Regions from separate parts of the Homo sapiens genome. Here region 1 is linked to region 2. The links are contacts of gene promoters, found by promoter capture Hi-C in blood cells and fetal thymus (Javierre and others, 2016). All regions are on one chromosome and are shown on one strand. Each heading gives the region's core, a stretch centred on a gene start or on the middle of the fragment in contact. The rest is flanking DNA. Distances are from core to core; before and after follow the strand shown.

The links. The method cuts DNA at HindIII sites, captures the fragments that hold promoters and counts their contacts. A CHiCAGO score of 5 or more calls a contact.
Region 1: a fragment that was not itself captured here is called in contact with the fragment with the promoter of ANKRD55 in region 2 in 1 of 17 cell types (naive B cells); the score reaches 5.1 in naive B cells.

The regions. Positions count from the first base shown.
Region 1 is chr5:57,259,124-57,262,510 of GRCh38, reverse strand. It overlaps GPBP1 (GC-rich promoter binding protein 1), which reads right to left. Exons shown (of 12, transcript NM_022913.4): 11 at 1,229-1,331. Among named protein-coding and RNA genes, the nearest start is that of GPBP1, 87 kb to the right of the region's middle. The HindIII fragment of the contact is 398 bases long and covers 1,368-1,765 here.
Region 2 is chr5:56,231,891-56,235,479 of GRCh38, reverse strand. It overlaps ANKRD55 (ankyrin repeat domain 55), which reads left to right and starts at 2,150. Exons shown (of 12, transcript NM_024669.3): 1 at 2,150-2,239; 2 at 2,534-2,624. The coding sequence starts at 2,567. The HindIII fragment of the contact is 3,640 bases long and covers 1-2,860 here.

The DNA.
Region 1 (3,387 bases), core at 317-2,816, 1.0 Mb before region 2:
ATTGTATCCTAACCCAAAAACTACACAAGTAATGATATTTCTGAAAAAATTCTGGATCCAGACAAAGTAGATGTGAGTAATAATTGTCACACTGATTAAGGTACTAAACTTTCCCACATTTTTATTGCCTCAAGTGACAACTGTAATAAATACCTTCAGGGACTTACCAGAATATAATCAGAAACCATTAAGCTGTATCTGTTATTTTTATTATTCTGACCTAAATTAATACACCCCCCAATCTGCTTTGTTCATAGTTTGTAAAGTAGAATGAGGTATATAAAGTTACAAAATTGTCTCGTTTAACCGGAGATGAAGATACTAGAAAAAATACAGTTCTCTATTTCTGAAAATGAGAAATCATAACTAAAAGGTTGGTAATAAATAAGAATTGAGTCAAAACATCATCAAAGAAGAAAAAAGATAGTTGGCCCAAATTAGAAACAATTTAAAGACAGAAAATAAGCCCAGTGTAGTGGCACAAGCCAGTAGCCCCAGCTGCTCAGGAAGCTGAGGCAAGAGTATTGCTTGAGCCCAGAAATTTGGGGATGCAGTGAGCTATGACCAGCCACTGCACTCCAGCCTAGATGACAGAGTGAGACCCCAACTCTTTAAATAAACAAATAATCGATTTGAAAAAAAGCATCTCAACTTCCTGATGCTCTAACAAAAATTCCCTAATACTCTTTCAGAAAGGTAACTAGGGAGACATTAAGCAAGATGTTTTAGAATATGAAATACTCTTGTGCAAGAAAAGGATAAAAGATGAAGTTACTTAGGAAGCTACTAACACTCTCTACTTCTTATCACTCTTGCTCCTCCCCCAGAAAAGCCAAAAACAAAAACAAAAAACAAAACAAAAAAGGTCTGGAAAATGACTAATCCATAGACATCACTTACACTAATTCCTAACTATTGCACACCCAATAGTTTAAATAAGTCACTATTGCAGACTTCTATAAAGTCAATTCAACCAGGTGCAGTGGTTCCTGCCTGTAGTCCCAGTTACTCCAGAGGCTAAGGTTGGAGGATCACCTGGCACCCAGGAGTTCTAGAGGCCAGCTGGACACCATAGCAAAAGCCTGTCCTCCCTCTTTTTTTTTTTAAAAGCAATTCTGACCTATCGTGATAAATTCCTAAATCTCCCCCACTCCATGCTTACATATAATTATATTGTTCTAAATAAGGGCAGTTTAAAAGTGAAGTTGTATGATTCAGGTTTTCTTACCTGTTCACTAATAACTTGGAATTCTCTCATTTCATCCTCAGTTAAGGGAGCACATGTTTCATCATTTTCACTGTCTTCCTGCCAGCCCATTTCCTTTAACAATCTGAAAAGGAGAGGAAATTAAGTTTAATGTAAAGCTTACCCTGAGTAGGACAGTATCATTTACATTATGTATAAGAAAACATGATCCACCAGGATCCATTATACAAAGACCCCAAGACACATCAAAAGGATTTTTGAGCTCAGGCTTTGAGTATCTTTCTGAAAATGAATAAACAGGTAAGATTAATAAACTGATATTAAAATTAGAATGAACTCCTTGACTGCTTAATCCTTGGTGTCAAAGGCTCTTCAGGCTGGAAACTTTTAACAGATGTGAAGCAAATCTGCTAAATTCTTATACTAAAAGTAACAGCAATATCACTCCTCTTTTTCTTCAGTACCACCATATTTCTGACTACTCATTAGGTTTTCTACTTGGGCAGTCATGAACACTGCATCAATAGCTACTTCATTTGATCAGGAAACCTCCAAGCTTGTTTCTTATATGGCCACATATCTTGTATTGATATGAAAGGGTTTGTTTTTAAAAAATGAAACCCCTAAGTACTTCTGTTACTCCTACAAGGAGTCTTCAAAAAGTTCATAAAAAATGTGTATCATGGAAAAACTATGCAAGAATTTCAAGAAAAAAATTCTGCACCAAAATAAACTTGTGCTAACTTGTGATAACATGTTTCAACAGAATCTTGTTTAAGGCACCACAAAGGTAAGACATCAGTTTGCGAAAAGCCCCTATCAGATCAACATGAATTCTGCTAAAATCGAAGCAAGAACAAATACCAAATTTATGGTGAAACTTGGGTGGAAGAATAATGAAATCACTGATGCTTTACGAAAAGTTTATGGGGACAATACCCCAAGGAAACAAGAAATTTCAAATAGATAACTCATTTTAAGAAAAGATGAGGTGATTCTGAAGATGAAGCCCTCACAGAAGCAGCAGCAGATCATCCCCATCAATTGACAAGGAAAAAATTAATCTTGTTAGTGCCCTAACTGAAGAGGACTGACGATTAACAACAGAAATAGCCAATACCACAGACAAGACATCTCACTTGGTTCAGCTTACATGATTCTGAATGAAAAATTAAAGTTGAATAATTTCCACTCAATGTGTGCCCACATCATCTGCAGACAAAAATAGAGCTTTCAATGGAAAGTTTAAACAAGTGGGATCAAGATTCTGAAGCATTTCTTCAAAGAACTGCACATGGCTTTACCAGTATGATCCAGAAGACAAATCACAATCAAAGCACTAGCTACCAAGAAGTGGAAGGGATCCACTCAAAGCAAAAGAGGACCAGTCAAGAGCAAAGGTCATGGCAACAGTTGTTTGGAAGGGATAAAGAACAGTAACATCTGCTTATTATGAGAGTGTTTTGAGAAGGAAAGCTAAAGCTTTAGCAGAAAAATGCCTGGGAAAGCTTTAGCAGAAAAATGCCTGGGAAAGCTTCACCAGAGAGTCCTTAACCACAATACTCCTGCTCATTCCTCTCATCAAACAAGGGCACCTTTGCAAAGTTTCAATGGGAAATCATTAGGCATCCACCTTTCAGTCCTGATTTGGCTCCTTCTGACTTCATTTCCTAATCTTAAATTTTAGAGGGGGCCCATTTTTCTTCAGTTAATGTAAAAAAGACAGCACTGACACGGTTAAACTGCCAGGGCCCTCAGTTCTTCAGGGATGGTCTAAATGACTGCTATCATTGCTTACAAAAGGGTCTTGAACTTGATGGAGTTATGTTGAAAAACAGAGTTAATAGTTTTTATCATTTAATTACATTGTTCCACAAACGTTTAAGTCCCCTCTTATTTACACCTACTCATCTTTTAACTTGCACCTGCTACACAATAGCTGCTTATAGACTTTTAGACCTTTTTTCAGAGTCTCACAGAATATCTGAGACCTTGAATAAAACATAACATGATATCCACATTTTACACATGAACAATCAAGATCATATAAGTAAAATAACTTGCTTACTTGATGGCAAAGACAAATAGAATTTTGGTTTTCTGTCTCCCAAATTAGTATGTATTGCACAGCACCTTGTTGCTTCTGAACAAAAATGTCACAGTCAGCATTAATCATTTCT
Region 2 (3,589 bases), core at 901-3,400:
ACAGTTTCCTCAGGCAATTCAGAGTCAATCTTCTCAGACTGAGGTGAAAAGGCTGCTACCACTGGAGATGGGGAGGCTGCTTCTACTAGGGATTGGGAGTCCACTTCCACTGGCAAAGAAGACTCCTCAGAGTTTAGATGCTCAGTGTCCCCCAGCTTCATCAGGGTCTTCTCACATGTCTCTATCCAATTTACAGTATCCTCTACTTTCCCAATCAATGTCCTCACTTTAACAGCAGACATCCTGTGAAGCTGGGAGTTTGACTTGCGCTGTAATTCAGGAGTTCAATTTGCATTGTAATTCAGGCAGCTGCAGCATGAGAGCCTGCATTTGATTGCAGCATCCTCAGCCTCATGGCTACAGGAGGTAAGACTCTCCTTCAGGGTACACATACACACCTCCAGGTCATCTATATGGCACCTGAGCTGGGAATTAGAATCCGTGAGCTAATCCTTTTCTTTCATCACTTTGTCCAGTGACATTAGGAGCAACCAGCCATATTCATTAAGTTTCCAAAAATGTTTGAGGGTATCATCTACACAGTCACCCAACTCCTTGCCTGTTGTGTCCAGTGATTAATTAGGAATATTCAGTGCAGCTTTTTGCATATCTCTATTACCACTTCACACCATGGACTATCAATGCTCTCTTTACTCCTAGAAATAAAGCTATTAGAATCCTTAAATTTAATCAGATTTGAGAGCCAATTCCAGAAACCCTAGAACCAATCCTCAAGTACATGGTTTCTTGTTTAGACTAGAAAATTTCAAGGACTACAGAAGTTCTTGTCAGAAAGTTCTTACCCCATGAAGGATGGTTAATTGGGTTCCAATGTTACAATGTCAGTGAGCAGGTTGTCAGCTTGAGCAAGGAAAGTTCTTCAGTGAAGTTTCACTCATGCACTGAAATGTACTGAGCACCTCCTTTGTGCCCCTCTCTGTGCTAGGCTGTAAGGACATGGAGTGGACAAAGCAGACAAAGAAAGAGTAGACAAAGACCCTGCCCTTATGAAATGTACCCTCTTGTGGAGAAATATTTTAATTTGGGTTTCCGTAAAAGCAGACCCTGAGACAATGATTCCAATGCAAGTAACTTATTGAGAAGTGCAGGAAATATCAGTAGGAACGTGGGAAAGTAATACAGGGAGGGAACAGCAGCCCATAAAAAGAACGTTATTAGACCTATTCTCACAGGTGGCAGTGGAGTTTAACCCTGAAGGAGTTTAATCCTGAAAGGGAAATGGCAAACGGAGTAAAACACCATGCCTCAGAATCATCCTATCCAAGGGCAAAGGAAGCTGGTGTTTATTATTAGATTCAACAAGCATCTACTATATGGCTATTTGACTTATCCAAAAATCTGGTTGTGCCTAGAATATAGAACTTTGTTTGAATTTAGTATATCATATTTTTATTACAAATACAAGATAATAGATACTGGTTATTAACAAGCCAAAAATACAGAGATTGATACAGAACAAGTTAGAAATCTCCTACTCTAATCACAGTGGCCTGAGGGAACCAATATTAGCAGTTTAGTACGTATCTTTCTACATCTTTTTCAGTGTTCGTCTGAATATATAAAAATAATGTATACAGTGAGTGGTTTCCGGTTTTATTAAAACACGAACAAATGAAATATATAACTTGTTTATTTCATTTAACAATAGATTAGTGACATGTCACCAGATAAATACACAGATTTATTTATGTCAGATTTTTAAATCTAGAGTACGAATTTACTACCATTTACTTAGCTGCTCCCTGAATGAGGTACATTCGGGTGATTTTTCAGGTTTTACTACATGTAATGCTACAATAAACACCCTTGTGACAGCAGACTGTTTTAATTTTATCACCACAGACACTCGAGCCTTGAAATGTCACCTTTCAAATGACGCCTTTCCCCATCCTCCCTGTCAATTGGAGAACGGAGCTGAAAGGGGAGTGAAGAAGACTGCCAACATGGATAATTACTCCACACAGCACATGGCCAGCAGCCTCCTGCTACAATATTTACATCCTATTCCATTGAGATGGCACTCTCTGCTCACATGACCCAAATGCAGTTCTCACTCCGCCAAAAGCACAGCCGAATGCGAACTGCATTGGCAGCTTTGCACATGCTCTGTCTGGCCCTGTGAATCCTCACTCACCCATTCAGATTTCTGTTGGTGTAAAGCGACATTCCAGCTGCTGAAGCTCCGTGATCTGCTGTGTTTTTCCAGCCCAGATCCAAGGCAGGTGGCCCATACAATTTTACTATCTTTTTGGAGTTTGAGTAATTGTGTTTATTGATTTGGGGGTGGAGGGTGTATTATGCCCATGTACAGCTGATGAATGAGGCCATAGAGTAACTCTTTTCCTAGCAGGTATTTACAGGAATAGCATTTACCTATTTTCATCACCTTGCCTTGACAACAACCTGCAGCTCTGATGCACATTTAATCCTGAAACAGAGGTCTTGGCAAACGATGCTGCCTCTGACTGTCATGTTGACAGTAAGGTTTGAGATGGTGTTTTCTCCTCTCTAGAGACCTGGATGCTTTTTGCCATTCTGATGGTAAATGATGAGACAGGCTACCATGGATTTCAGCACCCCTTCTGTGTTTGATCAGCAAAGAGGTAAAATGCTGCTTTAACACATTCTTTGGTTGTTAGCATCCTTAGTCTCATGGTATGGATTTACAGTTGTAAGGAGAGAAAGAGAAGTGTGTGTGTGTGTGTGTGTGTGTTCATGTGCGTGGGTGTGCATGAGTATTTGCTATGTAGGATGTGGAAAGAGGATTTCACCTAGAAAACAAACCTGTTCAAAATGTTCACTTCTAGTTTGATAAGCATCTGAAACAGAAAAATAAGCTTATGATCTGTTGTATAAGCTTATGATCTTGTTGAAGTATTCCTACCTTCAAATTTTAAAAACTGGATTTCAAGCACACCAACTATTTCAGATAGTGTCATCTTTATTCTGTTTTTTCCAAATCTTTTTTAAAAATTAGGGTAAGCAATGTAAGAACACATCACATTTTTTTTGTCATTCGATTAGCCCAGTATCTCATTGCTGTATCTTCGTAAGCATTTTTTTATTCCTTTCAGGAATAGATGTTGCCTGTATTTATGTCGGGTTGATATGTTATCTCATCCAAGGTTGTGTAATGACATATCCCTATGCTATTATTTGCAATGCCAGGGTATATCTTCCTTACTTATAATTTCTGGAGTGGAGGTAATTTTCCACATCAAAATGTTGCTGTGAGATCAACTTATCCTTATAATATCACATATTTGGCCATGTGGTCTATGTGTATACATTTTGCATATGCAATGTGTTTATATACATCTTCGTGTAATACTTATGTGTAATAGTAAATCTTTTTTTAGTATAAACATGAAATTTCCATTTTATAAACATAATAAATATTTTTTAGAATCTTTTCTTAAATATCTATTATTTAAACCACTTTCTACAGTCTCTGAATATTCTTCAAGATCCTAAGTTCCTTTGGTGATTTTATCTGTTTTGGCTACAACATGAAATGGTGGTTTGAAAAAGCCTCATTAAGAAAATGTACTGCTTCATTCTTTTTTCC